Regions from separate parts of the Homo sapiens genome. Here region 1 is linked to region 2. Evidence: promoter capture Hi-C in human tissues and cell types (Jung and others, 2019). All regions are on one chromosome and are shown on one strand. The core of a region is centred on a gene start or on the middle of the fragment in contact, and the rest is flanking DNA. Distances in the headings are between cores, read along the strand shown. Region 1 overlaps NUP210L (nucleoporin 210 like). Region 2 holds the start of JTB (jumping translocation breakpoint).

Region 1 (5,127 bases), core at 1,074-3,573, 48 kb after region 2:
GTCTCAAACTCCTGACCTCAAGTGATCTGCCCGCCTTGGCCTCCCAAAGTGTTGGAATTATAGGCGTGAGCCACTGTGCCCGGCTTGAAATGGGTTTTTAATTTTTTTTTTTTTGAGACGGAATTTTGCTGTCTCGCCCAGGCTGGAGTGCAGTGGTGCAATCTCAACTTACTGCAACCTCCGCCTCCTGGGTTCAAGCAATTCTCTGCCTCAGCCTCCTGAGTAGCTGAGATTACAGGCGCCCGCCACAATGCCCGGCTAATTTTTTTGTATTTTTAGTAGAGATGGGGGTTTCACCATCTTGGCCAGGTTGGTCTTGAACTCCTGACCTCGTGATCCACCCGGCTCGGCCTCCCAAAGTGCTGGGATTGGCGTGAGCCACTGTGCCCAGCCAGGTTTTTAATTTTTAAAGCTGTGGGAATGTGAAGAGAAGCTGGAGCTTTATGAGGAAAGGACTATAATTCATCCATTTCATGCAGAGTGCTCAATATTTATGGTTAAATAATCAATTACTTATCAGGAACACAATCTATATTGTGTTTTCACACTGTAAGAGAGCTGTGATACAGTAAGTGAAGCCCGCGTTTGAATCATAGCTTTATCATTTCATAGCCTCATGTAACTTTTCTGGGTCTCAGGTTTCTTATCAGTTAACAGTTAGATGGGGATAATAATGCCTACCTCATAGGGCTTTTGTGGTAGTTAAAAGAGATAATATACATACAATGACGAACATAGTATATAGTAGATGTTTAATGTCTAAAATTTTTTTTCGTGTTAAGACTAACTTATCTCTGAGGTCTTTTCTCAATTTTTTAATTCTTGTAGCAAAGCTTAATTTTTTAAAAAGAAACAGATTGTTGCTTTGTTTTCCAGGCTGCAGTGCAGCAGTTCAATTGCAGCACAAAGCAGCCTCGAACTCCTAGGTTCGTGTGATCCTCCACCTCAGCCTCCCAAGCAGCTAGGACTGCAGACATGTGCCACCAAGCCCGGCTATTTTTTTTTTTTTTTCATTTTTTGTAGAGATAGGGGTCTCATTATGTTGCTCAGGCTGGTCTTAAACTCTTGGCCTCAAGTGATTCTCCTGCCTCAGCCTTCCAAAGTGCTGGGCTTACAGGCGTGAGTCACCCAGCCCAGCCAATTTTGATAGCAATCATTCTACACTCCTCCGATACCAGTCCTTTTGCCAAAGCTGCTAGGAAGACAATCATATAAATTTAGGCTGATCTGTTTTTTTTTTTTTTTTTTTTTTTTTGAGATGGAGTCTTGCTGTCGCCCAGGTTGGAGTGCAGTGGCGTGATCTTGGCTCACTGCAGGCTCCGCCCCCCGGGGTTCACGGCATTCTCCTGCCTCAGCCTCCTGAGTAGCTGGGACTACAGGCGCCCGCCACCTCGCCCAGCTAATTTTTTGTATTTTTAGTAGAGAAGGGGTTTCACCGTGTTAGCCAGGATGGTCTCGATCTCCTGACCTCGTGATCCGCCTGCCTCAGCCTCCCAAAGTGCTGGGATTACAGGCGTGAGCCACCGTGCCCGGCCAGGCTGATCTGTTTTATAACAAGGGCTCTAAAGTTCATTTTAATTTTATGGCTTATAACCATGTCAAGACTGGCCTCTTATAGGTTCATTTCTGACTCCCAGAGAGTTTCTTCTTCTTCTTCTTCTCCTTTTTTTTTTTTTTTTTCTGGTTCATGTTCTCTCATGATACAGAAGTTTCTAATTCTTTTCTTTTTCTTTTTTTCTTTAATGGCATGATAAGAAAATTTCTAGTTTTTTAAAAAAGAAACTCTGCTTTTTAAGGCCAGGGTATGACTTTTATTTATTTGTTTTTTTTAGTAAGTCCATGAACTCACCTGGACCCCAGTTATGGTTGTTTGGTTGACTCCAAAAGGTTCTATAGAAGTGACTTCCAATACAGCAGTACCTGCAATGGAACCAGCTTTCAGGAGCCCTTCACCATCCTCCTCAATGACGGATGAATTAGGGAAACACTTGAGAACACGAGAACTCACGAAGGCAGCTCCTTCCCTAGGGAACAAGGAAAGGAAGTGGCATCTTTTTGGGGTCCTGTCTGACCAGAGAGAAAAGAGTAAAAATTTCCAGGATTACTGTTAGGGGATGTACTCGAGAAAACTGCTTGCCATTCTCCACGTGTGTAATTATTTGTTCCTCAGGTAAAAGTCTGCCTTTGGATTATGCTTATTTCTTTAAAATCAAATCTTATTACATATTTATAATTAAAGAATTATTTAGGCCGGGTGTGGTGGCTCATGTCTGTAATCCCAGCACTGTGGGAGGCCAAGGCGGGAGGATCACCTGAGGTCAGGAGTTCAAGACCAGCTTGGCCAACATGGTGAAACCCCGTCTTTACTAAAAATACAAAAAAAAAAAAAATTTTTAGCTGGGCATGATGGCGGGTGCCTGTAATCCCAGCTTCTCGGGAGGCTGAGGCAGGAGAATGGCTTGAACCTGGGAGGCTGAGGTTGCAGTGAGCCGAGATGACACCATTTGCACTGCAGCCTGGGGGACAAGAGCAAAACTCCGTTTCAAAAAAATAATTATTCAGCCAAAACAATTGAAAGCAGGTATTCAGGTAAATACTTGCAAATGAATATTCATAGCAGCACTATTCACAATAGCCAAAAGGTGAAAACAACCCAAATTTCTTTTCTTTTTTGAGACGGAGTTTCGCTTTTGTTGCCCAGGCTGGAGTTCAATGGCGTGATCTTGGCTCACTGCAGCCTCCGCCTCCCGGGTTCAAGTGATTCCCCTGCCTCAGCCTCCTGAGTAGCTGGGATTACAGGCATGTGCAACCACCCCTGGCTAATTTAGTATTTTTAGTAGAGTTGGGGTTTCTCCATGTTGATCAGACTGGTCTCGAACTCCCAACCTCAGGTGATCCACCTGCATTGGCCTCCCAGAGGCCTGGGATTACAGGCATGAGCCACTGTGCCCAGCCCCAAATTTCTATTAGGAGATGAAATTATAAACTAAATGTGGTATTTCCATATAATGGAATACTATTCAGTCATAAAAAGGAAGAAGTACTGATACATGCTACAACATGGATGAACCTCAAAAACATTATGCTAACTTAAAGAAGCCAACACAAGGCTGGGCGTGGTGGCTCACACCTATAATCCCAGCACTTTGGGAGGCCGAGCCGGGAGGATCGCCTGAGGTCAGGAGTTCAAGACCAGCCTGGCCAACATGGTGAAACCCCATCTCTACTAAAAATACAAAAATTAGCCAGGTGTGGTGGCAGGCACCTGTAATCCCAGCTACTCAGGAGGCTGAGGCAGGAGAATTGCCTGAACCTGGGAGGTGGAGGTTGCAGTGAGCTGAGATTGTGCCACTGTGCGCTGGCCTGGGCAACAGAGCGAGACTGTCTCAAAAAAAAAAAAAAAACAAAAAAAAAAAAACAAAAAACACAAAACGTTGCATACTGTATGATTCCATTTATATGAAATACATTCAGGATAGCTAATACCGTACACAGAAAGCAGATTAGTGATTGCCAGGGGCTGCGAGGAGGAAAGAAAGAAGAGTGACTGCTTCACAGGTATGGGATCTCCTTTGGTGGTGATAAAAATATTTGGAACTAGATAGAGATGCTGAATACACAATATTGTGAATGTACTAAATGCCACTGAATTTTACACTTTACAATAGTTTTACATTATGGGAATTTCACCTCACACAAAAAATTATTTGGGAAAAATCTCCTAGAAGGCAAAAGTGTTCTTTCTATGTCAATGTTTTACTGAAAATACTTAAGCTTAGATCCTGGCACTTCCTTATTCTCCCTTTTCCTTACCTGTTGGTATGGAGTTTGAGCTGAGAATTTATAGGCATCAGAATCTGCTCTGGTTGGCACTCTGGATAGAAGAGTTGGAGTTTTTCAAACACCTATAATGAGAAAATGTTTTCCTCATTTTTGGCAAAGACAAATTATGACTTTTACTTACATATAGACTTCAGTATAATCCCGAAGAGATTACATGCAAATAAATGACAACTACGAATCAACAGTCTGCCTAACTTCTAATTAGTCTAAAATCGTCCACAATACTCCTCTCCAAAATGAACCAGGCACTCAAAACGTAACTAGATATTCTAGAAGATATAACCTAATGTTAGCCCTGTTTCTGACTCTGAGGGACTCAGCATGTAGCAAAGTTTACACTTACCACATCTTCCATATTGCTTAGATATTAGGTATAAAAATACTTTGAAATTTCTAATTTTGGCTCTGGTAAAATGACATGAAGTTTGGGGAAAAGAACTTATAATATTAAATTAGCATGAAATAACATCCAGGTCTTCCACCTTCTAGTAAAGTGCTCCTTCCTCTACTTCACATGGAATCAGAGAACCAAAGCCAAAATAAAGGAAAAAATAAAACAGGAAAAGAAAAAAAAAGTCTCAAAATCAGAGGCAGTGAAACTTACTCGACCCATATAAGTGATAATTTGTTTTTTGAATTCTAAAAACAACAGAGCCATTTAGCTTTTAGCCCAAGAATATCTGTAGAAACTATTCATACTCTTACACCTTATCAAAAGTTAGAATTATGTTTTATCCTAACTGTGAATATATTTAAATGGACTTATATCGGCTGGACGCGGTGGCTCATACCTGTAATCCCAGCACTTTGGGAGACCAAGACGGGCAGATTACCTGAGGTTAGGAGTTTGAGACCAGCCTGGTCAACATAACGAAACTCCATCTCTACTAAAAATACAAAAAGTAGCCAGGCATGGTGGCGCATGCCTGTAATCTCAGGTACTCAGGAGGCTGAGGCAGGAGAATCACTTGTACTTGGGAGGTGGAGGTTGCAGTGAGGCGAGATCATGCTACTGCACTCCAGCCTAAGCAACAGAGTGAAACTCTGTCTCAAAATAAATAAATAATTAAATAAAAATTGTTAATGGACTTATAATATCTATGTCAGGTGGAGTGGATCAGAAATGAATCCCTCTCTAGTTACTATGGTGTTCATATCCTGTGTTCCTGATATGGGGAGTTGAAGGGAGTGTGTGTGCTACAGTTTCTTTTCTTTTTTTTTCCAGACTACTCACCTGCAAGTACTAATAGTTTCTAATGTTAATAGTATATAAAAGCAGCCGGG
Region 2 (5,349 bases), core at 1,576-4,075:
GGAATAGTTATTCCCAAGGAAGGCCAGACAGCTTCTCCCTCTAATTTCCCTTCTACTTCAGCCTAGCCAGGATACACTCAAGAGGAAATCAGAGCCAGGCTTCTATTGTGTGTATAGTACATAAATCCCTCTCAAATAGATCATTTAATTTATTCTCTGGATAAGCAGAGCTAGTATTAACCAATTTTACTGATGAGAAAATATGGCCAATAACATAGTGCTGAGGAGTAGAGCTGGGACTTGGGTTCAAGTAATTTGGCTCCAAATCCCGTCTTCTTTCTTATTATTTTTGAGATGGTGTCTCGCTCTGTCACCCAGACTGGAGTGCAGTGGCGTGACCTTGGCTCACTGCAACCTCCACCTCCCGGGTTTAAGCAGTTTTCTGCTTCAGCCTCCCAAGTAGCTGGGATTACAGGTGCCCGCCATCATGCCCAGCTAATTTTTGTATCTTTAAGAGAGATGAGGTTTCACCATCTTGGCCAGGCTGGTCTTGAACTCCTAACCTCGTGATCCACCCGCCTCGGCCTCCCAAAGTGCTGGGATTACAGGCGTGAGCCACCCCTCCCAGCCTCTTTTTTTTTTTTTTTTTTTTGACACACAGTCTCGCTCCATTGCCCAGGCTGGAGTGCAGTGGCATGATCTTGGCTCACTCTAACCTCTGCCTCCTGGGTTCAAGTGATTCTCCCTGCCTCAGCCTCCCAAGTAGCTGGGATTATGGGCACCCACCACACCAGCTAATTTTTGTATTTTTAGTAGAGATGGGGTTTCACCACGTTGGCCAGGCTGATCTCGAACTCCTGACCTCAGGTGATCTGTTAGCCTCAGCCTCCCTAAGTACTGGGATTATAGGTGTGAGCCCGGCCCCCTCTTCTTTCAGATATTCCATGCTACCCCCAGACCAGGGGAAAAGGTGGGACCATCCATCTAAAGTCATAGGAGCAAAGGAGGTGATCTCAGAGAAGAGAAACAGCACTCACCTTTTGAACTCATTTCTCTTAGATGAGCTGCATGTGATTTTCTCTACATATCCTGTGGGACCACACTCAGGGGTAGTTTTCTGCCAGGAGAAAAGGAGCAAAGTACATGTTAGGAAGGGGCAACAGGATAAACAAAAAGGCTGCCATTCAGAAGGTGCAGGTGCCCAACTGCTATGGTTTGGAGTGGTAGGCAACAGAGAGCTAATGAAAGAGTTCTGATGCGGATGGTGGAGGTGGTGGTTGCATGATTACGAATGTATGTTAGAACACTTCAGGGGCAACAGTCTAGGAGTGGCAAAGATACATTCCATTCCAGAGCCTACTATACTAAAAGTGAATAAAACATAGTTATTTGAGGCCGGGTGTGGCGGCTCACGCCTATAATCCCAGCACTTTGGGAGGCCGAGGCGGGCAGATCACGAGGTAAGGAGTTAGAGACTAGCCTGGCCAACACAGTGAAACCCGAGTCTACTAAAAATACAAAAATTAGCCAGGCATGGTGCAACGCGCCTTTAGTCACAGCTACTCAGGAGGCTGAGGCAGGAGAATCGCTTGAACCCGGGAGGCGGAGGTTGTGGTGAGCCGAGATCTCGCCACTGCACTCCAGCCTGGGCAACAGAGTGAGACTCCGTCTCAAAAACAAACAAAAAAACCATAGTTATCAGTTGAATACTGCCATTAGCTTGGAAAGAAAGGGGCACATTTTCAGGGGAAAGACAAGTACAGATTTGGACATACACTGAGACTGCAAGAAGAAAGAAAAAAAGATGATGCAAAGGCAGCTTAATAAGACTTGGATGTTAAGATGTTGCTTAAGTGTTTGCTTAGATGTTTAAAAAAAAAAAGGGTAGAGAAATAGATACTCACAGCCCGGAAATTAGAGCATGGAGAGCACTCTTCTGCTACCACAAACTCTTCCACCAGCCAGCATGGCAAATTTGAGGTGCTTGCTGAAAGGAAAGATAAATGCCAGCCCCAGGCCATTCAGAAAACATTTCTCCCAGGCTCTGCCCATCCAACTTCCCGGCACAGCGCTTGCCCTCATTCCATGTGGTGCCGGCCTTTTCCACCTGTGCTCTTGGTATATGGGGAAGATACTAAAACCAAAAACAAACGACGGGACGTGTCGGGTTCCCAGACAATCACCCACCTGACAGCTTCTCTTCCTGCACGGGAGCCTCTGCTTGGCTGTAGCGGAGTTGGGGGAAGGGACAAAAGTCAAAACCCAGAAAATAGGGCACCCCCTCCTGCGCTGTCCATGGATAAGATCTCCCCCAGCCCCGAGGCCGGGAACGATCCTGTCCTCCAGTGACCTCCTTTTCCCTCCCCTTACCTCCTCCTTACCAGAGCTTTAAGGTGAAAGCACAGAGCAACCAGCAGAGGTGGCGGCCCTGGGGGAGGCCAGGCCTCCCGGCACCCGCAAGCATGGAGCGCCAAGTGTCGCACCTGTCGGAACAGAGGGACCTACTCCACAGGCCTCGTGCCTCCGTCGGAGCGCAGAGGCGGCACTTACTCTGCAGCCCTCCCAGAGGTTCCAGGTCAGGGCAGGGAAGGCCGGAGTTGCCTATTGGAGCAGAGGATCTATCAGGACGTCCCCGTTGCCACAGCGAGAAAAATCGATATGTTTTTGCGGGCTAGGGAGGCGAGCGCCTTCTGCGGGGTCCGCAGGGCGCTGGAGGAAGGGCCGGCGGGGGCTCGCGGCCCTAGCGCCCGCTCACCTCCGCTCCCGCCCCCGACGCAGCCATCTAGCCCCGTGGAGGATCCTCGGGCGCGGGACCGAGCTCGGGGCCCGGTGTTCCCGGGGGCGTTCGGTCGTCGCCCGCTGGGGCTTATAGTCTTCCGCGTCGGTGGCGCCTCGCCTGCTGCTCACTGGGAATTAGCTCGGCGCCCCGTTGCATTGTGGTCTTGGTAGTCTTTGCGAGAACGGCAAATGGCGGTTGCAGAGGCTCGTCCGAATTCTCGGCTCGCTGCTCCCTGGCTGGCGCGTGTTTGTTCATTCTGGGCTAGGTGAGCAGGGACAATACGTCGCCCTCTCAGGACTTTGCTCTCTCCTTAAAACCCGAGGATTCACCGTCAAGCTTCTGGTTTCTCTGACATCCTTCCCCAGCCGCCCCTTCATCGCCACCGATGATCCAGTGGAGAAGCTGTGTTGGAGGTCAAGGGATGGAGGCGAAACTGCGCGTTCTCGTCCCTGCAGAAACCGGAATATCCGAGACACATGACGAACATGAAACTTTCTCCTTGTCTCTTGGCTCCCACTCCGCTACACAGATGAACGGTGTTACCTTCCCTCATGTTACTTTGCTAAGCCTACTCCTCAGAGCTGGTCCTTTGCATAACCTCTTCAAATGCTCTCAACTCTCCCTTGCTCCTACATAATGGAGTAATCATAAGTGCAATGAGAAAAGCATGAGATTTGAAGTTCCATAAGTATTGAGTCTAGGTTCTGGTGGTTATTAACTCCATGATCTTAGGAAAGTATCTGTCAGTGTTCTGTGTAAAACGGAAATGCTAATGTGTATTTACCAGGACTTTTTCTTGCGAGAGGCAGATGAAATGTATCTCCGTTTCATGAGTAAGTTCAGAGAATATAAGTGACTTGTCCAAGGTCAGCAAGCTAATGAGTGGGAAAGCTGAGGCTTGAGCCTAGACTGTCAACACCCAGGCCAAAGATTCATTGCCTGCTTTTCATCTTATGGAGTTAAACCTTGATACACACTCAGATCTGCAGTGACTTGACCAGCACTGTGGGTTCATGCTTTACTGTCTGATAACGAATTTTCATTTAATTTTATTTTTTTTCTTAGACAGGGTCTAGCTCTGTCACCTAAACCTGATGAGGGCTGAGCCTTCATTTCGCCGTTTTTTGTTTGTTTGTTTTTGTTTTTGAACGAGATGGACTCTGGCTATGTTGCCAGACTGGAGTGCAGTGGCAAGTCACAGGAGCCATCATAGCGCATTACAGCCTGGAACTTCTCGTCTTCAGGGATCCTCCCAAGTAGCTGGGATTTCAGGCATGTGCCACCATACCTGGCTCTAATTTTGAATTTGTTTCTTTAAATTATTATTTGTGTTTGCTGAAATTGTGTGTGTATTATTTTTGTGTATGTGTGTGAGTAGTTATATGTTACATAAAGTAGGTTGTGGGGTTTTTTCCAGTAATGTTTAGCTATAATTGAAGTTTGGGCCGAAATCTGCTAGTATTTGTTACTCCTCACCAAATCCTACCTTATCTCACAACAAACTGTAAGATCTTGTGATATTTCACTTCCAATAACCTTACCAGGCATCAGAGTGGGGTCTCTACTCTGAAATTAAATATCTGCCATAAGGTATGTTGAAGACGTTAGTCTCTTTCCCAGGAGGCACAAAGTGCAAGTCTTTTCCTCATCGCTTGAGCAAATTAAACCTACCGGACAGTTTACTACAGAACTCAAACACAGCTGGGCGCAGTGGCTCACGCCTGTAATCCCAGCAATTTGGGAGGCCGAGGTGGGCGGATCACCTGAGGTCGGGAGTTCAAGACCAGCCTGACCAACATGGAGAAACCCCGTCTCCACTAAAAATACAGAATTAGCTGGGCATGGTGCCATATGCCTGTAATCCCAGGTACTCGTGAGGCTGAGGCAGGAGAATCACTTGAACCCGGGAGGTAGAGGTTGCGGTGAGCCGAGATCACACCATTGTACTCCAGCCTGGGCAACAAGAGCAAGAATTCATCTCAAAAGAAAAAAAAAAGAACTTAAGCATAAGCCACAAATAAGGTTTATCATTACCTCATCAATGCTTGGATACTTACATTTATCAAGTTATTACATTTTGCTGTGTAAAAAATATTATGTATGGTGAAAGGGGGATATATATATATTATGTATTAAAATATGTATTATATATTATATATTAAACATAATATAATTATATATAATTATATATTAAACATAATATATTATATATTAAATATATAATTATAATATATATTTAATATATATGTATAATATATAATTATATATTATATATAATATGTTATATGTTTATAAACATATACATGTTATATATATTATATATTTCCTATATATTTAATATATAATATATATAATTATACATTGTAATATATAATATAATATAATATATATATACTTAAGGATGCTGTGCATCAAGCCTGAATTTTTTTTTTTTTTTTGAGATGGAGTTTCGCTCTGTCTCCAGGCTGGAGTGTAATGGTGCGAACTCTGCTCACAGTAACCTCTGCCTCCTAGGTTCAAGCGATTCTCCTCCCTCAGCCTCCCAAGTAGCTGGTATTACAGGCACCCACCACCATGCCCAGCTAATTTTTTTTGTATTTTTAGTAGAGATGGGGTTTCGCCATGTTGGC

What was found. The method cuts DNA at HindIII sites, captures the fragments that hold promoters and counts their contacts. A contact is called where the count stands out against the background at its distance.
Region 1: a fragment that was not itself captured here is called in contact with the fragment with the promoter of JTB in region 2 in 1 of the 25 tissues and cell types used here (thymus).

Annotation. Positions count from the first base shown.
Region 1 is chr1:154,023,693-154,028,819 of GRCh38, forward strand. It overlaps NUP210L (nucleoporin 210 like), which reads right to left. Exons shown (of 40, transcript NM_207308.3): 29 at 3,814-3,905; 30 at 1,850-2,024. Among named protein-coding and RNA genes, the nearest start is that of RPS27, 35 kb to the left of the region's middle. The HindIII fragment of the contact is 5,326 bases long and covers 1-4,986 here.
Region 2 is chr1:153,974,849-153,980,197 of GRCh38, forward strand. It overlaps JTB (jumping translocation breakpoint), which reads right to left and starts at 2,826. Exons shown (of 5, transcript NM_006694.4): 1 at 2,322-2,826; 2 at 2,128-2,165; 3 at 1,845-1,927; 4 at 978-1,057. The coding sequence starts at 2,404. JTB-DT (JTB divergent transcript) reads left to right here and starts at 2,895. Exons shown (of 1, transcript NR_186180.1): 1 at 2,895-4,312. RefSeq lists enhancers at 998-1,647, 2,297-2,945, 2,947-2,996 and silencers at 2,667-2,716, 3,005-3,299. The HindIII fragment of the contact is 6,167 bases long and covers 1-4,753 here.